Regions from separate parts of the Homo sapiens genome. Here all the other regions are linked to region 6. The links are contacts of gene promoters, found by promoter capture Hi-C in blood cells and fetal thymus (Javierre and others, 2016). All regions are on one chromosome and are shown on one strand. Each heading gives the region's core, a stretch centred on a gene start or on the middle of the fragment in contact. The rest is flanking DNA. Distances are from core to core; before and after follow the strand shown.

What was found. Contacts are between HindIII fragments. The CHiCAGO score rates a contact against its expected background, and 5 or more counts as called.
Region 1: a contact is called between the fragment with the promoter of KPNA1 here and the fragment with the promoter of POLQ in region 6, in 5 of 17 cell types (naive CD4 T cells, total CD8 T cells, total CD4 T cells and 2 more). The highest score is 8.0, in naive CD4 T cells.
Region 2: a fragment that was not itself captured here is called in contact with the fragment with the promoter of POLQ in region 6 in 4 of 17 cell types (fetal thymus, total CD8 T cells, non-activated CD4 T cells and 1 more); the score reaches 7.8 in fetal thymus.
Region 3: a contact is called between a fragment that was not itself captured here and the fragment with the promoter of POLQ in region 6, in 1 of 17 cell types (monocytes). The highest score is 5.4, in monocytes.
Region 4: a contact is called between a fragment that was not itself captured here and the fragment with the promoter of POLQ in region 6, in 1 of 17 cell types (naive B cells). The highest score is 5.1, in naive B cells.
Region 5: a contact is called between a fragment that was not itself captured here and the fragment with the promoter of POLQ in region 6, in 1 of 17 cell types (monocytes). The highest score is 5.3, in monocytes.
Region 7: the fragment with the promoter of WDR5B here is called in contact with the fragment with the promoter of POLQ in region 6 in 9 of 17 cell types (fetal thymus, naive CD8 T cells, neutrophils and 6 more); the score reaches 10.9 in fetal thymus.

What each region holds. Positions count from the first base shown.
Region 1 is chr3:122,513,081-122,516,314 of GRCh38, reverse strand. KPNA1 (karyopherin subunit alpha 1) reads left to right here and starts at 1,376. Exons shown (of 14, transcript NM_002264.4): 1 at 1,376-1,558. LOC107984000 (a long non-coding RNA gene) reads right to left here and starts at 1,286. Exons shown (of 2, transcript XR_924403.3): 1 at 1,187-1,286. RefSeq lists a silencer at 1,409-2,098. The HindIII fragment of the contact is 3,104 bases long and covers 987-3,234 here.
Region 2 is chr3:122,385,475-122,388,373 of GRCh38, reverse strand. The region is part of intron 1 of FAM162A (family with sequence similarity 162 member A); the gene reads right to left. Among named protein-coding and RNA genes, the nearest start is that of FAM162A, 2.7 kb to the right of the region's middle. The HindIII fragment of the contact is 3,328 bases long and covers 1-2,899 here.
Region 3 is chr3:122,430,753-122,433,805 of GRCh38, reverse strand. KPNA1 (karyopherin subunit alpha 1) reads left to right here. Exons shown (of 14, transcript NM_002264.4): 12 at 18-145. WDR5B-DT (WDR5B divergent transcript) reads right to left here. Exons shown (of 3, transcript NR_125405.1): 2 at 1,285-1,339. Among named protein-coding and RNA genes, the nearest start is that of WDR5B-DT, 16 kb to the right of the region's middle. The HindIII fragment of the contact is 602 bases long and covers 1,023-1,624 here.
Region 4 is chr3:122,472,903-122,476,080 of GRCh38, reverse strand. The region is part of intron 2 of KPNA1 (karyopherin subunit alpha 1); the gene reads left to right. Among named protein-coding and RNA genes, the nearest start is that of KPNA1, 40 kb to the left of the region's middle. The HindIII fragment of the contact is 1,151 bases long and covers 1,159-2,309 here.
Region 5 is chr3:122,453,189-122,456,093 of GRCh38, reverse strand. It overlaps KPNA1 (karyopherin subunit alpha 1), which reads left to right. Exons shown (of 14, transcript NM_002264.4): 6 at 2,093-2,224. Among named protein-coding and RNA genes, the nearest start is that of WDR5B-DT, 38 kb to the right of the region's middle. The HindIII fragment of the contact is 621 bases long and covers 978-1,598 here.
Region 6 is chr3:121,544,593-121,547,600 of GRCh38, reverse strand. It overlaps POLQ (DNA polymerase theta), which reads left to right and starts at 1,613. Exons shown (of 30, transcript NM_199420.4): 1 at 1,613-1,886; 2 at 2,695-2,874. The coding sequence starts at 1,724. RefSeq lists enhancers at 1,465-1,759, 1,651-1,880. The HindIII fragment of the contact is 11,524 bases long and covers 1-3,008 here.
Region 7 is chr3:122,414,119-122,417,370 of GRCh38, reverse strand. WDR5B (WD repeat domain 5B) reads left to right here and starts at 1,309. Exons shown (of 1, transcript NM_019069.4): 1 at 1,309-3,252. The coding sequence starts at 1,843. The coding sequence ends at 2,835. WDR5B-DT (WDR5B divergent transcript) reads right to left here and starts at 1,165. Exons shown (of 3, transcript NR_125405.1): 1 at 1,121-1,165. RefSeq lists enhancers at 1-511, 615-814, 975-1,024, 1,055-1,294, 512-1,329 and 1 more. The HindIII fragment of the contact is 1,055 bases long and covers 661-1,715 here.

The DNA of each region.
Region 1 (3,234 bases), core at 127-2,626, 970 kb before region 6:
TTGGATGGGACCATCAAGGACTAGCTAGGAATAAGGGTGAACCGGAAATAAATTAGCTTTCCCAAAGACTGAAGACCGGCTCTGAATAATCAGTCTTAGTTCCTTATTGGAATAAGGTGATCTGTCTTCAGTCTAGCTGTGGTCAGGCAAACTTGCCCTTAAGTCTCTCCTGTTGAACACACCTTCCCTTTCCCCAGCCCCCTTGCTCAAACTCAACTCTGATCTTAGTAAACACAACATCAGCGGGAGAATGCTGATGCAGCAGAGAGAAGTCCAGGACAAATGAACATTGCATAACCTAGGATTCAGGTAGAGTGGTCCTCTCTCCTCTCCTCTTCCCTGGGACATTTATAAATGTATTAATCTACCTCATCTCTTTCACCTTGCTTCTTGGCATGTGTTTTAAATCTGTCTACTATTCCGTGATCCCTGCTAGGCTGGCTTCAGTTTTTCTTCTTTTGAAGCCACTACTCCATTTGCTCCCCCAAAGAATTCCATGAAATTTAACATTAGCAATCATTTGCTCCAAGTTTTCGTTTGAGAGCAGTTGAGAGTAAAACGAGTATGTGTTTCATGTAGTTTCATTATTATTATTATTATTATTGTTATTATTATTTTTGAGGCAGGGTCTCACTCCGGTTGCCCAGGCTGGAGTGTAGTGGCGCGATCTCGGCTCACTGCAGTCTCACCGTCAACCCCGGGCTCAGGTGATTCTCCCACCTCAGCCTCCCGAGTAGCTGGGACTTCAGGCGCCCGTCACCACCCCCTGCTAATTTTTGTGTTTTTAGTAGAGACGGGGTTTCGCCATGTTGCCCAGGCTAGTCTCAAAACTCCTAGCCTCAAGTGATCCACCCACCTCGGCCTCCCAAGGTGCTGGGATTACAGGTGTGAGCCACCGCGCCCGGCCCTTAATTATTTTTGATACTACGCATACGTTATCAAGCAAAGGGGATGGGAGATAACTAAAAAAGGAATGTCCAGAAGCTTCCTGCATTCATGCTGCATGTGAGCCCTTTAGACACGAGGCGCTGACCTACTAATTTTGTAATACTCCCTCAGCCTTCAATCATTCCATCATTCATTCCATCAACGCGTATTAGGTACTTAGAAGCTATACAGAGGTGAGCATCGATCCGCCCTGGAAGAGCTTAGCAAAGACAGGTTTGTACATATAACTTTCTCCAACCTTTGCCATGGTCTGCAAACCTCCTTCTTAGCGAGACCCCCTCCCCGACCCCCGACTCTTCACAGGCTGGGCGCTAACCATTAGGAATGTCCGGCGAGAGAGCGTTACAAGACTACGTCTCCCGGCAGCCTCTGCGACAAGCGCCGGAGGGGCGCGCGTAGGCGCTCGGGCCGGCCCCCGCACGCAGGCGCACTGCGAACGCCGGCTGAGCTGAGTCTCGCTGCTCGGTGCGAGGCGGCGGAGAGCGAGGCCTGGTGAGCACCGCCGAGGCGCGGGCCAGCTCTTCGAGGTTGTGCGCGGGAGTGGCACGGCGGGCGGGCGAGCGAGGGGCTAACTTCAGCGGTGGCACCGGGATCGGTTGCCTTGAGCCTGGTGAGTGCTGGGGCCTTGCGGCCCCGGCCCCTCCCCCTCCCGCCGGCAGATCCGGGCAGTCCCGGAGGGACTCAGGAGAGGCCCTGGGGCGAGGGCGGGTGCCGGCAGGGCCTAGAGCCGGGGTTCCTGGGCCGGACGCTCGCGCCGCGTCCGTGCGTCACGGGCCCGGCTGTCCTAACGGCCACAAGGCCGGCGGAGGAGAGGGTGGGGGTGGGGAGCCCTGGTGTGATCGCCATCGGGAACGCCGGTCGAGGCTAGGCGGGGCGGGGCGGCGTGGCGCGGCGGCGGGGCTGTAAGCGGCGCCGGGGACTGCGGGGCGCCGAGGCAGCGGGCGGAGAGGAGGCGAGCGCGGAGCCTGCGCCGCGGCCGGGCGGCGGGCGGGAGGCGGGGGTGGGCCGCGCAGAGCGCTGTGACAGAGGCAGGAAGGAGCAGGGGTGGCGTGTAAAAATTCTAACCCTGGCAAAAAGGGACCGTCTTGGGAATTCACAAGTTACAGACCGGGTCGGAGCCGGCGGCCCGGAGGGAGGTGGGGGAAGCGGGGGGTGGAGACGGCCGGCTGCAGTTTACCGATGTCATAACAACATGGGCCTGGAGCGGCTGATCGGGGGTGTGGTAATTATAGCAATGACAGAACTTGGTCTGCACGCCGCGTGTGCGATGCGAGGGAAGCAGCGAGGTATCGGATTAAGCTCAAAACGGGAGGAGGAAACAAGGATGACTGGAGTCAAGGAAGTCGTCATGAAGTAATGTTTTAGGATTGGGTCGTGTTCCACTTTTAAATGAAAGCGTTCAAAATATTTGATTTTTAAGGTTTCAACTCAGAACAAACGATTGCCGAGTTTTTGTTTGTATTTTAAAGAGATGGGGTCTCGCTATATTGCCCAGGCTGTACTCCAACTCCTGAGCTCAAACTGTCCTCTTGCCTCAGCTTCCCAAGTAGCTGGGACTAGTCTTGGGCAACCACACCCAGCTCTGCAGAGTATTTTTTTTTCTGAAACGTACTGTCAAGTAATATTAACTTGAATTTCACCCTTTTTTCTTAAATAAACGGTTGCTTAAAAATCTCTATTAGTAGATGAAGTGATTTCCCCCCTCCTGTTTTGTTTTTTTTTTTCTTAAGAGATGGAGTCTTGCTTTGTTTCCCGGGCTGATCTGGAACTCCTGGCCTCAAGGCATCCTCCCTACTAGCTGGAACTACAGGCGGATGCCACCAGCAAGGCTCATTCTCGACATTGTTTTTGTCTTAACTAGCTTTTGCATTTGTAATATTTTGAAAGCAGTACACAAGTTATTTTTCCCTCCTTTTTAAAGATCAAAGAGATGAAAATTTAATTTTTCAAAGGAAAGTAAGAATGAGTTCTGTTGTATTTTTACTGAAATATTCTTGGAAGACACTGTTTTATGGATAGATGAGACGTAAGAGAAAGTAAAGGAATTAACATTTATTGAGTTCTTTTTTCAGGTATTGTGTTAAATGCTTTACATATATTAAAAACATTTGAATCTGAAGTATCTGTTAATTTTTCTATTTTACAGATGAAAGCATTGACAATCAAATGTTAAGTAACTTACCTAAGGTCTTCCAGTTCTTGTTGAGAACAACCTTAGAACCCAAAGTTACTGCCATTTAAATTATTTCTCTCCTTTCATACTTTTTCGTTGTTTTCTTTATTTAA
Region 2 (2,899 bases), core at 2-2,501, 840 kb before region 6:
TCAATAATGCACCATCTTCTCTGCCAAACTAACACAAATCTTTGATGGCGTTTCTGATTATTTTTCCAACTTTCTTATTTCTGACAATGAGGCAATACTTCTGTAGTCCTCAACATTAAAAAACTTGTCTTTAAGTCCTTCCTTACTCAGTATCTCCAAACTCATCCTTTCTTCAAGACACTTCCTAAATATATTCGTTATTTCCATCATCACCTCACACATCAGTTACTGTAATATCTTCATAGGTAGCAGCAATTCAACTGGTATGTAGTTGCTGAGTTAATTTTCCAGAAATGTTTCTTGTGTTACTTCTCCTGCTAAAAGGTTTTTTTGGTCCAAATTCATTTGGTTCAAACGTCTCCAAACACTACACTTTACCTCCTATTGCCTCCTGATCAAAATCCCTAAGGTAATCTTTCCTCTCTCATATCCTTTTTCAGACTCATTACCGCCCCTACATGTGCTCACAACTCATTACCGCCCCTACATGTGCTCACATCACTCTCACACCCCTTCATTTCAATGGAGCCTTCAAGAATCTCAGAATTCTTGAAGCCAATGGTATATTATATATGTTTGTTTGTTCATTGCAATAAATCAGCCCTAGGAGTGGGGCAGTCCATTCATTTTAGAGCCTTCACAGTATACACACAGGGCATCCATTGTGTACTCAATAAATACTTGGCAAGACCTGGAAAGGAGCAATAAGTAAAGCCAAATGTGGGGGTAGTTAAAATGCGTACGTTCTCATTTAGGTTTGGTTAGCAAGAACAAACAAAAAGAATAAGGTAGCAGAATGTGGTAGAAATAAAATCAGAATGGGAGCCAGGGGATACTGGCTATGTCCCAGGTCTGTACCTGTGTGGTCCTTGGCAAGCTGATTCCCTTCTTGGCCCTTAAGTTTCCTCATCTGTAAAAATTAGAGGACTAAATTACCTGACTTCTAAGATACCTCTCTACTCTAATGCTCTGAGATGTGGGTTAAACTAAAAGGAAGGCAGCCCATAGTCCATTACATTGGTAACAATGACGGTAACAAATTCATTTTCAAATCTGACCAGTCAACAGAGTTTAGGGGAGCAAAACTTTCTTTCAATAAGAAACATTCTTGTAAGGTCATTCCATTCCTTTGAACTAATAATCATTCTGTGGAAAGATACAATATCCTAAAAGTTATATCTATTTTATTCTTTCAGGAGAAAACAGGTGTGAAAACTCACCTTACATTTGCAGCATGTTCCAAGATATTTCCTAGCATCCTTCATCCAAAAAATATGTATTGCCTGTCTACTATGAACTGAACACCAATAAGTGGTAAGGACTGAGTAAAAACAAAACAGAGCCAGTGTTTACCCTTATGAAACCCAGCGTAGTGTGGGTAAATGGCCATTTAGTTCCTAATCATCTGTATCAGTGCTTTTTAACTTAAAGAGCATGAACTGCTCTGAGTAGCAGATATAAAATATGGACCCTCTCTCTCAAAAATGGTATACAATCATAAAAATTTGAGAAGTTCACAGGACCTCTCAAATGTGGAGGTGTCCAGTACCACAAGTTAACAACCCTGATCTGTATCTACAACTACATCTACAAAACAACAAATTCGAGCTCATAAAAGCCTACATTATGTTTGCTATATTGTTTGCTAAGGGAGTATACCAAAGATTTCCAACAGAAACAAAAGTAAAGGTCCATCATTTATAAGGTTAAGTTTTGATCATCTGAAATTTCACTTACCTAGAGAATCTTATTCCAAATATTCTGGATAAGTAAGGTATGCCTAGATTATGCTTCTTTTCTTTTTTTTTTTTTTTTTTAGACAGGGTCTCACTCTGTTGTCCAGATTGGAATGTGGTAGCATGATCGTATTATAGCTCAATGCAGCCTCAAACTTCTGGGCTCAAGTGATCCTCTTGCCTCAGCCTCCTGAGTAGCTGAGACTATGGGTTTGAGCCACCATGCCCAGCTAATTTTTAAAAGTTTTTTTTGTAGAGACAGGGTCTTGCTAAGTTAGCCAGGCTGGTCTCAAACTCCTGGTCTCAAGCAATCCTCCAGTATCAGCCTCCCAAAGTGCTGGGATAGCAGGTGTGAGCCACCACATTGAGCCTACATTTCTATTTGATCTTTCATTCCTTTGGCTAAGGCTGCTTATTAAAGCAGTCTTCTTTCTTGAAAAGCCATTTGCACATGAAGGTGTACTTTCATTTCAGAACTAAATCTGCATTTCATGACTCTTCCATTTCAGATTAATGAGATCCAATTAGTCATGACAAATTCACACACGCACAGCCCCTGAATGAACAGCTTGAACAACAGCAAAAAGCACAAAAATTCCAGAATTAAAGGGTACCCTCTCCTGGCTCTAACATTTTTTGGCAAAGAGATCCTGGACAAGTCATCTCTGACCTATGTTTCTTCATTTATAAAGTGTGGGAGGAATAAGACTTACCTGAGAGGGCTGCTATGAGAAATCCATCCAACAAAATAATGTATATGAAAGTATTTAGCTATGAAGTGGGTGAAAGGTAGTAGGTTGTTGCGGAGTTGCTCACAAAGCATCAGACATTCGTGGAAGATCATATGGAGAGAGCTGCTCATATAACATCCTTAGTGTGCTATTAAAAATTTTATATCTGAAGTAAAATAAATTGTTCTTAAATCACTCAAGGAATTCTGCTTTGGTTAAGTGGTCAATAGTGAAGTTTTTACACATCAGAAGTTTGCAGAGATGCAAAAATATATTTATGCAAGATGCATAAATATATTCTCAAAGCAAGAAGATGAACTACTTACAATATACTCAGTATTAGTTCAAAGATGTCAAAGTAGTTCCAAGATGTCAAAGTTCTTTTCATGCAGTCCATTTTAACTTTTTTACAGAGCAATGATCCTTTCACTT
Region 3 (3,053 bases), core at 74-2,573, 890 kb before region 6:
TTTTTCTTTAATTTTAGACTGTGATAGATGCCAACATTTTCCCAGCCCTCATTAGTATTTTACAAACTGCTGAATTTCGGACAAGAAAAGAAGCAGCTTGGGCCATCACAAATGCAACTTCTGGAGGATCAGCTGAACAGATCAAGTAAGTACCAATCAGGCAGCATATTGTAAGTTAAAGAAAAATTATTATTGTGTCTATCACTTTATAACCTCCCACATATTACCTAGAGTAAAAGATTAGCTGCCTTTGAGGGGAAAAGTAAGTGAGAGACGATCTTACCAAATAAGAATGTTTAGTTCCAGTCCTTAGGAAATTGTCCTTGGTGTCATAATTAGATGTGTATTTAATTCTTTATAACTCTCCCATTTCTTTTTGCTGAAAAACAATCCTGGGATATAAGAAGTAGGCATAGTCGAGGCTTGAGGCAATAGAAATCCTTGCTTCAACCTACTCTGGAGCTACTTGTCAGAAATATCTTGGGTAATATAGGTTACTTGTAGAACTTGAGCCCAAGTTTAATAACTCACTCTTGCCCTTTTTAGTTTAGATGTCTTAATAGTAGAATTGGATCAGAATTGAAAGAGTGGTATGTCTGAGAATGAAGTGCCAAATTTAGTAGAGGCAGGTATCTTCTAAAGTACTATGGTATTCTTGTTAAAGGGAGGAGCTGTAGCAGCTCAAGACTTAAATGGCTCCCTTGGTAGCAGCTTAGTGATTGACTGATTGAGATGGAGTCTCTCTGTTGCCCAGGCTGGAGTGCAGTGGCACTGTCGGCTCACTGCAACCTCCGCCTCCTGGGTTCAAGCGATTCTCCTGCCTCAGCCTTCCTAGTAGCTAGGATTACAGGTGAGTGCCACCACACCCAGCTAATTTTTGTATTTTTAGTAGAAACGGAGTTTTCCCCTGTTGGCCAGGCTGATCTTGAATTCCGGAGCTCCGGCGATCCACCTGCCTTGGCCTCCCAGAGTGCTGGAATTACAGGTGTGAGCCATCATGCCCGACGAGCAGCTTATAAGCTTAATGAGTGGAAGAAAACATAAATATGGATGGGAATCAGTTCTTCAAAGGAGCATCATATAATTAAATGCAAAATTCAGGACATCTAGTATTTCAGATAGGGAAAAAAAGTAATGATGAAGAGAAAAATGGAGCCTAGCCTAGACTCAGCCAGTCTTAACTTTATGGGGAATCCAAAATTAAGGAAAGATGGTTTCAAATGAGTGCTAAAGCATTAACTCCTTACTCATACGTAATATCAGACAAACATAGCTACTACTTACATTGTTGCTTTGTGGACTGAATGTAGGCATTCATCAGATGCTAGTTTTGAGTGTTCTGTTTGGAATTAAAAAATAAAAATAGTAACAAAGTACAGAAATTTATCAGGTAGAGAAAATAAGAAATATGTACCTGAAAGAATAAAATTACAAACAGATTAACATATGCAGTAGCTATTTTGGTGAAGTTCATCATGGGCAGGTTATTTCAGGGAGACAGAAGCACATTTGTCTTGTAGGTTTTTTCCAACCTCCAAAATTCTGATTCTAGAGTACTATGATTTTAATTATGCTGTCACCAGATGGTAAAAATAATGAAGTACTATAGTTATTTGAATAAGCTTTATGTTCAAATTCACATTTATAGTTATTAATTGTCTCTATATTTTATAGCAAATATATTTTCTTAATTGAAATAAGCCAGGCCGGGTGCAGCGGCTCATGTCTGTAATCCCACCACTTTGGGAGGCCAAGGCAGGTGGATCACAAGGTCAGGAGTTCGAGACCAGCCTGGCCAACAGGGTGAAACCCCGTGTCTACTAAAAGTACAAAAATTAGCCAGGTGTGGTGGCGTGCACCCGTAATCCCAGCTACTTGTGGGGCTGAGACTGGAGAATCGCTTGAACCCGGGAGGCAGAGGTTGCAGTGAGCTGAGATCATGCCACTGCACTCCAGCCTGGGTGACAGAGTGAGACTCCATTTCAACAAAAAAAAAAAAAGAAGAAGAAGAAATAAACCATAAACATATATATTTTATTATGCCATCTTTCATGAGAAAGTATTCAGGAGTATTTTGCTCTGTTAGAGAAGCGCAGAATTGCTGCTGTCCCTTTTTAAAATTCAGCATAGCTATTTATAATAAAATTAATTACCAACCTCCTAGCAGTTTCTTCTTCCCCACATGAAGAGTTATCTTGAAAGAATGTCACAAAAATATTACAGTCCAAATTACAAAAAACAAACTGACTTTATCACTTATAAAAGACATCTATCTGGCTTCTGCTGCTTCTTGTTGCAGATACCAGATTTGGATGCAAGAAACAATTAGAATATTTTAGGAAATATCTTGGCCGGGTGTGGTGGCTCATGTCTGTAATTCCAGCACTTTGGGAGGACAAGGCAAGCAAATCACTTGAGGTCAGGAGTTCGAGACCAGCCTAGCTAACATGGAGAAACCTTGTCTCTACAAAAATTAGCTGGGCGTGTTGGTGTTCTCCTGTAGTTCCAGCTACTTGGGAGGCTGAGGTGGGAAAATGGCTTGAACCCAGGAGGCAGAGGTTGGTTGCAGTGAGACAAGATCGTGCCACTGCACTCCACCCTCGGAGACAGAGTGAGAGACTCTGTCTCAAAAGATAAAAAAGAATGTTTTAGGAAACATCTAGAATTTTAGGTTGAATATAATCAAATGTTAATACATATATAACACATGTTCTTAATGAAGGATAAGGATTATTAACTGAAATTAGAGAAACATTCATCAAAGAAGTGAAACTTACTATTTGTATAGAGAATTGGCAGTTTTGGAGGGGAGAATAGCATGAGGAAAAGTGAGAGAATGCAGTGTTTTTGGAGGTGGCAGGTCAGTCTTGCTATAGGTCGTTCTTTCACAAGGATGATTAAGTAATCGACTGGTGAATACTGGGATGAAAGCCTCAGTCTTGGGTATTGGGAAGACTTGGCCTGTCTAAGCTCACGAGTGACACAAAGTAAGGCCTGTGTCTAGGTTCATTATTTTTCTGTATGGATGTTCAGTTGTTTTAGCACTGTTGAAA
Region 4 (3,178 bases), core at 485-2,984, 930 kb before region 6:
ATGCCAAGACCTTGCTGTTTTGATTACTATAGTGTGTAACATACAGTTGACCCTTGAATAAGGTCTTGAACTGCTTGGGTCCACTTATATGCAGATTTTCCCCTGCCTTTGCCACTTCTGAGACAGCAAGACCAACCCTTCCTCTTCCCTCCTCCTCAGCTTACTCAACTTGAAGATGAGAAGATGAAGGCCCTTATGATGATCCACTTCCACTTTATGAATTGTAACTATATTTTCTCTTCCTTATGATTTTCTAAATAACATTTTCTTTTCTGTAGCTTACTTTATTGTAAAAAATACAGCATATAATACATATATCATGCAAAATGTGTTAATTTAGTGTTTAAGTCATTGATAAGGCTTCCAGTCAATGGTAGCATATTTGTAGTTAGGCTGTGGGGGAGTTAAAAGTTATATGTAGGTTTTTGACTGCGTAGGGGATTGGCTTCCCTAACGCCTGTGTCATTTAAGGGTCAATTGTATTTTGAAATCAGTCAGTGTGAAGCCTCCTCCTCTGTTCATTTTTGCTCCAGATTGCTTTGGCTATTTGGGGTCTTTTGTAGGTCCATATGAATTTTAGGATTTTAAAAAATTTCTGTGAGAAATGTCATTGGAATTTTGATGGAAGTTACATTGAATCTGTAGATAGCTTTGGTTAGTATGAACATGTTAATACTGTTCTTCTAATTCATGAACATAAGAATATCTTTCCATTCATTTATTTCAATTTGTTTCATCTGTGTTTTATGTAGTTTTTAATGTACAGGTCTTTCACCTCCTTGGCTAAATTTATTCCTAAGTATTTTATTTTATTTTTGTAGCCATTGTAAATGGGATTGTTTTCTTAATTTCTTTTTCAGATAGTTTGTTGTTAGTGTATGGAAATGCTACACGTTTTTGTTTATTGATTTTATATCCTACAACTTTCCTGAATCCATGTATTATTTCTAACAGTTTATTGGCGGAGTCTTCAGAGTTCTTTCCATGTAAGATATGTCTTCAGCAATCAGGGACAATTTCATTTCTTCCTTTTTAATTTAGATGCCTTTTATTTCTTTCTCTTGCCTAATTGCTCTGGCTAGGACTTCCAACACCATATTGAGTGAAGATGGCAAGAGTGGGCATCCTTGTCTTGTTTCTGATCTTAGAGGAAAAGCTTTCAACTTTTCACTGTTTAGTATGATGCTAACTGTTGGTTTGTCATATATGGCCTTTATTGTGTGGAGGTAAATTCTTTCTATACCTAATTTGTTGAGAGTTTTTATGAAAGGATGTTGAAATTTGTCTCATGCTTTTTCTGCATCTATTGAGATGATCATAGGTTTTTGTCCTTCATTCTGTTAATGTGATTCACATTCATAGATTTGCGTATGTTGAACCATCCTTGTATCCCTGAGGTAAATCCTACATGTTCATATTGAATGATCTTTTTAATGTGCTGTTTGTTGAATTTTGTTAGTGTTTCGTTGAACTCCAGCACCGTTTATTGAAAAGACTACCTTTGCACCATTGTATTTTATCCTTTTCTTTGTTGAAGATCATTGTACTAGATTTATGAGGTCTATTTCTGGGCTCTCTATTCTGTTTCATTGATCTGTTTGTCTAGTCTTTTGCCAATACCATGCTGTCTTGCTTACGATAAATCTTGAAGTTGGGTAGAGTCATTCCTCTAACTTTGTCCTTTTCCTTCAATATTTTGTTGGCTATTTTGGATCTTTTTCCTTTCCATATACATTTTAGAATCATCTTGGTGATAGAAAATAACTTTCTGGGATTGTAATTGCATTGAATCTATAGGTCTAGTTGGGAAGCACTGACATCTTGCCAATGTTGAGTCTTTCTTTATAGATAGGAATAATACCTCTCCAGTTATTTAGGTCTTTGATTTGTTTCATCAGAGTTTTGTAGTTTTCCTCATAGAAATCTCGTATATGTTTTGTTAGATTCATACCTAAGTATTCTGTTTTTTGGGGAGTGTAATGTAAATGACACTTTTTAATTTCAAATTCCCTTTATTCATTGCTGGTGTATAGGAAAGCAGTTGAATTTTGTATATTAACCTTCTGTCATGTAACCTTGCTATAATTGCTTATTAGTTCCAGAGGTTTTTTTATTGATTCTTTTGAATTCTCCATGTGGACGACTGTGTCATCAGAGAAAAAAAGATGGTTTTATTTCTTCTGTTCCCATCAGCATGCCTTTTTCCCTTTTCTTGTCTTACTGCATTCATTAGGACTTGCAATACAATGTTGAAAAGGAGTAGTGAGAGGAAATCTCCTTGTCTTGCTCCTGATCTTAGCAGAGAAGCTTCTAGTTTCATACCATTTAAGTATGATGTTAGCTGTAGGTTTTTTTCTGGATATTCCTTGTCAAGTTGAGGAATGAGAATTTTTAAAATCGTGAATGGGTGTTGGATTTTTTTTCATATGCTTCTTCTGCATCTATTGATATGGGTGTGTGATTTTTCTTCCTTAGTCTGTTGATGTGATGGATTTTATTAATGATTTTCAAATGTTGGACCAGTAATTTACACCTGGGATAAATCCCACTTGATCATGGTATATGATTCGTTTTATACATTGTTGGGTTTGTTTTGCTAATGTTTTGTTGAGGATTTTGCACCTGTGTTCATAAAAAATGTTGGTCTGTAGTTTTGTTATAATGTATATTTGTCAAGTTTTGGAATACTCTGATGTTGGCCTCTACTGAATGAGTTAGGAAGTATTCCTTCTGCTTCTATCTTGTGTAGGAGATGGTACAGAATGGGTATAATTTCTTTCCTAAATGTTTTATAAAATTCACCAGCAAACCCATCTAGTCCTGGTGTTTTCTGTTTTGGAAGGTTGATTGGTTCAGTTTCTTTAATACAGGCCTATTCAGATTGTTTCTTGTGTGAGTTTTGGTAGTTTGTGGCTTTCAGGGAAGTGGTTCATTTTATCTAGGTGATCAAATTTGTGGAAATAGAATTGTTCATAGTATTCTTTTTTTATTTTTATTTTTTTGAGACAGAGTCTCGCTGTTACCTAGGCTGAAGTGTAGTGGTGCAATCTTGGCTCACTGCAACCTCTGCCTCCCGGGTCCAGGTGATTCTGGTGCCTCAGCCTCCTGAGTTGCTGGGATTACAGGCGCCCGCCACCACACCTGGCTAATTTTCATATTTTTAGTGGAAACGGGGTTT
Region 5 (2,905 bases), core at 39-2,538, 910 kb before region 6:
GGGTCAGCATTATGTTTCAGGAAACTATGACTGGGCTTCGTAATGTATTAGATTAGGAGGCTGTAACTTAGTCCTTGTCTTTGACTGTGTAACATTACTCGAGTCATTAGTCAAATTGTTGGATTTTTTTTCAGATAGTTTCCTCATTTGTACACAAGAAAAGCCAGATACTTTACATCTCTGGGTTGTTGTAGGGATCATCTGCGAGTATGTGAATAGTACTTTGAAAATATAAAGTGGCCGGGTGCGGTGGCTCATGCTTGTAATCCCAGCACTTTGGGAGGCCTAGATGGGAGGATGACTTGAGATCAGGAGTTCAAGGCCAGCCTGACAAACATGATGAAACCTCGTCTCTACTAAAAATATAAAAATTAGCCGGGCGTGGTGGCACATGCCTGTAATCCCAGCTACTTGGGAGGCTGAGGCAGGAGAATCACTTGAATCCGGGAGGTGGAGGTTGCAGTGAGCTGAGAACGTGACATTGCACTCCAGCCTGGGCAACAAGACTGAGACTCTGTCTCAAAAAAGAAAAAAAAGAAAATATAAAGTACGGTACAAATGTCAAGTTTTAATTCAGACGTACTGAAAGGGACTGAGTGTTGCTTTCATTAGTAATTTAATCATAGAGATAAATATGGGAAGAATTTTTATTTCATGATATCTGGGGTTTAATCTGTAAGTCCCCAGAATTTTTGTTATAACAAAAAGGGACCAGATACGGGCTCTTTAACCGAAGTACTCCTACTCTGGGCCTCCCTGCTGCTACTAAACCACCTTACCTCACTCATGTATGTCACTTTTATAGTTTTCTTTGGAACATCCATTGGTTATGTGTCTTCTGCTATGAATTTTCTATCACTAACATGGCTTTGAACGTGATTTGATCAGATGGCCCATTTTCCTGTCTTCCTCTATTCCCAAAGATTAATGAATTTAGTTTTCTACCTGACAGCTACCTTTTAGTTAATCTGGAAGCTTAGAAGAATCACAGGTCATTTGATGACGACTTGTTATTTTCTCTGATTTAAAGGACATGCCATGGAATTTTTCTTTTTTTCTGTGTATGTGCTTTATTAAATAGAAGACAGAATGGTGGAAGAAACAACCTGAAATGTAATTAAGAACTCTTAACTAAATAGAAAAGAGTTCATTATTGGATTTCTCAATATTAAGCTAAAGAGTCAAGTTAGTGTTAGAGATATATTTTAGTAATATGCTCTATTTTTTGTTGGCCATAATTTCCTTTATATCTTCTGTTTACCAGTGCTGTAATGCTATATATCAACCTTTAGTCAGTTTACCTTCATTTTTCCCTCCCTATTAAGAATGCCCAAAAAGTCCTATCTCTGTATTTTGGTTTGGAGCTCTCTCATTTATTGGAAGCTCTTATTCTTTGAAGTTGTCATTTCTTTTCATTATGTGCTGTTAACTCCTTTCACCTACTTATCATTTGATACCTTTTGCCTTTTTCACTGTGCCTGTATTTTATGTTTCACACTAACATTCTCCCCCCATTTTACTTTGCCCATTCTACAGAAGTTTTTAAATCTTTTTTATTAGATAACATACATGGTACAGGCTAAAAGGCACATAAAGCTTTCCAGTGAAAAGTATCTTTTTCATCCTTATTCCCTAGTTACCATCACCTTTCTATGCAGGCAACAAGTATTTAGTTTCCTCTAACTCATTCTGAAGATAATCTGTGCAATAAGTAAATTAATGCATATATTCCTTTTTAACGCTTTTAGAAAATATGGTATAATGCCATATTAATGTACACTGTTTGCATTTTGTTTTCATTTATATCTTGGGAGATCATACCATATCAGCATATGTAACACTCTCTCATTCTTTTTATGGTGTCATGTTTACTCTTTCTTGAACTGAAATTTTAGACACCCTGAATATTCTTCTAGGTTGAGGTATTTCTTCTGGATATTCTTCTTTTAAAATTAATATAGTACTCAACTGATAGGTTATGTGCAAATAATGATCTCAGAATCTTTTTTTCATGTACAGAAAATGTTACTGTTATAAGTAAACAAACTTTTACATTCTAAAAAGATAATGAAAATTATTTTTATCTTTATAGTTTGAATCAGCTTGGGTACTGACAAATATTGCTTCAGGAAATTCTCTTCAGACCCGAATTGTGATTCAGGCAGGAGCTGTGCCCATCTTCATAGAGTTGCTCAGCTCAGAGTTTGAAGATGTCCAGGAACAGGTAAAAATGAAACAAAAAGAAGCAGGTGAAAGAAAGTTTTTGGCTGGGCATGTCGCTCACTCCTGTAATCCCAACATTTTGGGAGGCCAAGGTGGGTGGATCACGAGGAGTTCGAGACCAGCCTAGCCAACATGGTGAAATCCCGTCTCTACTAAAAATACAAAAATTAGCCGGGCATGGTGGTACGTGTCTGTAATCCCAGCTACTTGGGAGGCTGAGGCAGGAGAATTGCTTGAACCCGAGAGGTGGAGGTTACAGTGAGCCGAGATCGCGTCATTGCACTCCAGCCTGGGTGACGAGAGCAAGACTTTGTCTCAAAAAAAACAAAACAAACAAAAAAAGAAAAACAAAAAAAACCACAAAATTTCCCAACATAATAAGGGGCTGAGTTTCACCAGTTGGCTTTGGTAATCTATGGATTGTCACAAAGGAGTGTTCTAGAAATTTAGTCTTAACCAAATAGAAAATTTCTTAGTGACTGTAGGCAGAATTTCTCTTAGACACATAAAATAATCTTCCCCTTCCAAACCTGACATTCTTTAAGCCCTGTATATGTACTTTTTTAGACCATGTAAGCAGTTACTGATAGAGGTTTTTTCTTGTAGAAATTTCAAGTGTTGAAAGTAGGCCAGGTGCTGTGGTTCCTGCCTGTAATTCCAGCACTTGGGAGGCTGAAGTGGG
Region 6 (3,008 bases), core at 364-2,863:
ACAGAGTGGGACACTCCGTCTCAAAACAAACAAACAAACAAAAAATGGGTTAAGCAAGTTGCCCAAGATCTCACAGCTACTAAGTTTCAAACCTAGACTGACTGACTCCAGAGTTGCACTGTTAACCCTTAAGTTACACTGCATCTGAGAAAGTTCTTTCTTGGCTGCAATCTAGGGGTCTCTCTCTCTTTTTTTTTTTTTTCTTTTTTTGAGACGGAGTCTTTCTTTGTCGCACAGGTTGGAGTGCAGTGGTGCGATCTCGGCTCACTACAACCACCGCCTCCCAGGTTCAAGCAATTCTCCCGCCTCAGCCTCCAGAGTAGCTGGGATTACAGGCACCCGCCATCATACCCGGCTAATTTTTTGTATTTTTGTAGAGACGGGGTTTCACCATGTTGGCCAGGCTGGTCTAGAGCTCCTGACCTCAGGTGATGCACTCATCTCGGCCTCCCAAAGTGCTGGGATTACAGGCGTGAGCCACCACGGCCGGCGAGATCTCTTTTATTTCTTTAATAGTACTCTTCATTTCTGCCCAAGCATATGGCACACTTCATTAACTGACTTGTTTAATGTCTGCCTTATTCTCTAGACTCTTTCTCTTTGAGAGCAGGAACCATTTTATGCCATTTCACTGCCATTTACCCAGTGGCTAGCTTACAGTAGATACTCAGTAAATAGTTGTTGATTGCGTAAAAGGCCAAGAGAAAAATGTTTCATTCACGGAGTAATGTCGCCATCTCGTGGAACTTTAGAATATTGTCATTTAAATCAAAAAAATGTTTTCACGGAAGGAATTGATGGTTCGAATGCTATTTTCCAGATTGTATTCGAGTGTTTTTTTTTTTTTTAATTGGACTGGACCTTTTGAGATTTTTAGTGCTCTAGAACTGCACAGCCTCTTCAGGTCAGGCTTAGGGCCTACTAGTTTTGCTTGGTGAAATGAATTATGCAACTAGGTAATGAATGGTCACCGTTTTACGTTCAGAACTCGTTCGCTTCTACCTTTACAAAAGGGACAACACAGATGCATTACTAAGCTCTTGGCTCATAACGATCCCTGGGGTATATTCAGAGCCCCTTCCTCGCGGCGTTCATATAGTGTCTCAGGGGTCTGTCAGCCAGCAATCCCCAATTCCTCATTACATATTCCTCACAATGCATGCTGGCTAAAATGGAAATTGTGTTCAGAAATAGCCCTGCCCTACCATCATATACTAGGAGAAAGGAGGAAATTATGCTCTATTAGAAACCCTAGGCTATCTTGCATAATGCTTCTCAATCTGAAATAATTTTTTACAGAATACCAATACGTTAAGAAGAGCTACTTCCCTGATCTACCTATTATGGGCAGCCCATTTTATGAAGTTAGCATGGCCTTCCTATTCAAACCAGAAATGGACAAAAGGAGAAGGAAGGCTTTTAGGTCAGTATGGTTATAACTGTAGATTCTGTATTCTTCCTCTTTAATCTATCTCTCATATTAACCAACCAGGAGGTTGGAGGCCGGAAGTCTTAGACGCCAGCGAGAGCCGCTCCTTCCCCACGAGTCTATGGCTTTCGGGTTACTTAAGCCACGGAGAACTCTATGGTTCCGGGGCGGGCCGGGAGGTTTGAGTTTGAAGACTGGCGGGAAGATGTCCGCAGCTGTTGCCAGGCCAGGGTTCTCCCGAGAGGGAGGACGCTGGGACTGTGGCTTGCCCTGATCGGCCGAGAAGAGTTTGCCATGAATCTTCTGCGTCGGAGTGGGAAACGGCGGCGTTCAGAATCAGGCTCAGATTCGTTCTCGGGAAGCGGCGGTGACAGCAGTGCCAGCCCCCAGTTCCTCTCCGGGTCCGTGCTGAGCCCGCCGCCCGGCCTTGGTCGCTGCCTGAAGGCCGCAGCTGCAGGTGCTCCAGGAACCCGGGAGGCCGCGGGCAACGGGGGCAGCTCCGCCGGGCCATGGGTCGGGAGGTGTCCTCACCCCACGGGACTTGCTTCGTTGCATACCCCATTGGGCTTCTACTCCCCTTCTCTGTGACTGGGGCCTGGTGTGGCAGGTCACTTTCTGTTCAGACATACGCGTGTTTTCAGTGATCGCCTGGTATTAATGTTCACGTGGCTTCTGGATCTTTCGACCTTTAGAGAAACAACTTCCTAGTTAGCTTCATCCCATCATCTGTTGGGCGGCTCGTTCCTGGTAGTACCCAGTACTCCTTACAGACCCTTAAGACAGGATTGTTGGGCCTGGAGTACGGCACAGGCTGTTCGGCGTCCAGGGGAAGGCTGGAAGGGATTCGTAATGAGATTGGTTGGGTGTCCCGTGGATGTCGACCCAGTTTTTTAAAATCGTTAGTTGTGCAGTCGTCATGGAACTAAAACTTACTATAAATAGAAACTCACCTAACTTAGCTTTGTAATGCTTGCATATTGCCCTCCTCCCCCAACTACACCCGTAATTCCAACACTCTTTATCTACTGTGTATTGCACGCTTTTTTGTTCGTTTGAGGCTTTTAAGGAATTTTTATTATATGCAGTAAATAACAATTTATTACTTTTCTATACATGGTCAATTTCTCATAAGATTCTTGAAGTCAGGATGTGCTTTAAAGAGCTTCATTTCAACACATAGGAATTCCAACACACGGTGAAGGGCTAACTGTAAAACTCATATATTAGAAGTAAATTAAATTTTAATTTTTTCTTTTTCCTAAAAGGAGAATGCAAGCCTACAGTTCCTGACTACGAAAGAGACAAGCTACTATTGGCAAACTGGGGACTTCCTAAAGCAGTTCTGGAAAAATACCACAGTTTTGGTGTAAAAAAGATGTTTGAATGGCAGGCAGAGTGCCTTTTGCTTGGACAAGTCCTGGAAGGAAAGAATTTAGTTTATTCAGGTATCCAAATTTATGTAAACTAATTACTATTTTTAAGATATGAATGTAAAGAATACTCTATTGAGGTAGTTGTGGTTCGTTTAAAAGGTGAATGAGGCAGTGCTTTATAACTAGAGAAAATCGTACAATATGTG
Region 7 (3,252 bases), core at 60-2,559, 870 kb before region 6:
TTTGAGACGGAGTCTCACTGTTGCCCAGGCTGGAGTGCACTGGTGGAATCTCAGCTTACTGCACCCTCCACCTCCTGGTTCATGCCATTCTCCCACCTCAGCCTCCTGAGTAGCTGGGACTACAGGCGTGCGCCATCACGCGCAGCTAATTTTTGTATTTTTAGCAGTATTGGTTGCGCCATGTTGGTCAGGCTGGTCTCGGACACCCGACCTAAAGTGTCCCGCCCGACTGGGCCTCCCAAAGTGCTGGGATTACAGGCGTGAGTGCTCGGCCTCGGGCACTCTTTACTGAGCAACAACAGGTTGGAGAAACTAGTAGGGCTTCCAGTTTTTTGGTAAACCTATTGTTTAAAAGTCTGCCTGGTCATCAGATTCCAGTCGTCTTGTTTCTGCCTCAGATGATAAAACTCTAAAATTATAGGATGTGAGATCTGGAAAATGTTTGAAAACACTAAAGGGGCACAGTAATTATGTCTTTCGTTGCAACTTCAATAGCATGTATATTTTACACACTTTCATGACCATTAATCATCTCCTAAAACTGGGGAAAGCTCTCTAAAACCTCCTTAAGAGTAACCTTATCCGTTACCCTATTCCACCAACCTCTTTGTCCTTTTCTGTTTCAAGCAACTTTGAGATACCGACTTCTCTATGGAAGCTTAAGCCGTAGATGCTAAAACAAACGTTTGCTCGTTACTCCCAGCAGAGCACCGGCTTTTAAAGGACCTCAACAGACACGTTTCTTAACCTTTACGAAACTTTTCCAGGGGAAACTTAAACCAGGAATTTTACAATCTGGCATAAATTCTGTCACCCGCCCCGTGACTCCATCGCCACACATGCCACCTGGCTCCACACCACAACAAACAGGAGGGAGCGGAACCCATGCAAAGCAGGAGCTTCCCCCGTTTCCGGCGTCTGGGTGGATCTACGTTAGCTGCCGTTTAGGCAGCTTACGCGTCAGGTGTGGGCCTAAGCCTGCAGCTAAGGTAGGCATCCGCAAATCTAGTCCTTCTCTGTGACAATTTCCAAAAAGAAATGGTTTTTGAAACAACGATCCACTGCTTCCCACACTATCCAGTTAGGTCCGGGACAGACCCTACCCAGCTAATGCACTCACCCAAGAAGGCAGTCGCTTTCGCATTTGAAGGGCGGGGCGAAAAAGACCGGAAATGAACATTGGCGACTTTTTTGCGCAGGCGCAGATGGCCGTCTCCCATTGGTCATCTCGGCTCGGTAGTGGTAGGAGGGACTTCCTTTGCACATGCGCCAGGCTGCTTTTCCGGCTTTGTTGGAGATTGACGCGGCAGTGCACACCTGCTGGTACGAGCAAAAGTAGCCGACAGGCCAGAGTTTCCAGTTTCGGTGGCTTCGTAGGCTTTTAGCTTCTGAAATCCGCTAAAAGCGGCGGTTCATTCATCTTCAAGTACCTAGCCTGACTGGTAGGGCTGCTCAGCATTCCGAAACATTTCGACCTGGGGAGGGGGGCGGCGGTGAAAGAATACTTTCTGTAGAGAGTGCCCCTCGCGTCGCCCCTGCTTTGAAGGCTTTATGTATTAACGGAATGCCGAACATTTGTGTCCTACTTGCTGACAGCGCACAGGATCCTTCTAACAGTATTTCTCAAGTACTTAACAAAAAGATGAAAACTTGAAGTCCAAGCCGTGCTGCTGATTCCGTCTCACAGTTTAAAGACTGTCCAGAAACTTTAAGCTTTCAAAACTGTACATTTTAAAATCCTGTGCGTTTATCTTCATTTTGCTGGGCAGAAAGCCAAAGTACTGGACTGCCTGGTTCAGGGCTGAACGCCTAGTACACCTGCTAACTTGGAGCTTCAGAGCCATGGCAACCAAGGAGTCAAGAGACGCCAAAGCACAGTTGGCCCTCTCCTCATCGGCCAATCAGAGCAAGGAAGTGCCTGAAAACCCAAACTATGCTCTCAAATGTACTCTTGTGGGACACACGGAAGCAGTGTCATCAGTTAAGTTTAGTCCTAATGGAGAATGGCTAGCAAGTTCTTCTGCTGATAGGCTAATCATAATTTGGGGAGCATATGATGGAAAATATGAGAAAACACTCTATGGTCATAATTTGGAAATATCGGATGTTGCCTGGTCATCAGATTCCAGTCGTCTTGTTTCTGCCTCAGATGATAAAACTCTAAAATTATGGGATGTGAGATCTGGAAAATGTTTGAAAACACTGAAGGGGCACAGTAATTATGTCTTTTGTTGTAACTTCAATCCGCCATCCAACCTTATAATCTCGGGATCTTTTGATGAGACTGTAAAAATATGGGAGGTGAAAACAGGAAAGTGTCTCAAGACTTTGTCTGCTCATTCTGACCCAGTTTCTGCTGTTCATTTTAATTGTAGTGGGTCCTTGATAGTGTCAGGTAGCTATGATGGCCTCTGTAGAATCTGGGATGCTGCATCAGGTCAGTGTTTAAAAACGCTCGTTGATGACGATAACCCTCCTGTCTCTTTTGTAAAATTTTCTCCAAATGGTAAATACATTCTCACTGCAACTTTGGACAACACTCTTAAACTATGGGATTATAGCAGAGGCAGGTGCCTGAAAACATACACTGGTCATAAGAATGAGAAATATTGCATATTTGCCAATTTTTCAGTTACTGGTGGAAAGTGGATTGTGTCTGGTTCCGAGGATAACCTGGTTTACATTTGGAACCTTCAGACTAAAGAGATTGTGCAGAAATTACAAGGCCATACAGATGTTGTGATCTCAGCAGCTTGTCATCCTACAGAAAACCTCATCGCATCAGCAGCATTAGAAAATGACAAAACAATTAAACTGTGGATGAGTAACCACTAATCCCTTTGAAAATCAAGTAGTAGAGCCAAGTTGGCCAAAAAACTTGGATATTTAAAAAGACGGTTTCTTTTAATTTTGGCAGTTTGGTATTTTAAAAATTGTCTATTGTTAAATTTTGAGATTCATACACTACATTTACAAAATGAGATAGTTGAAAAAGCACATCTAGAATTCAGCTTCTGACTACCAATCTTTTTTGAGCAACTTTTTGTAATTTTTATGGATTTATGTCACTTTTATTACAGGGATATATTGCATAGTGGTGAAATCTGGGCTTAGTATACCCTCACCCAAATAGTATACATTGTACCTAGTAAATACTTTCCCATCTCTCACCCCACTCCCACCTTTGAAGGCTCTAGTGTCTATGATTCTGCTCTCCACGTCCAGGTGTACACATTGTTTATCTCCCACTTA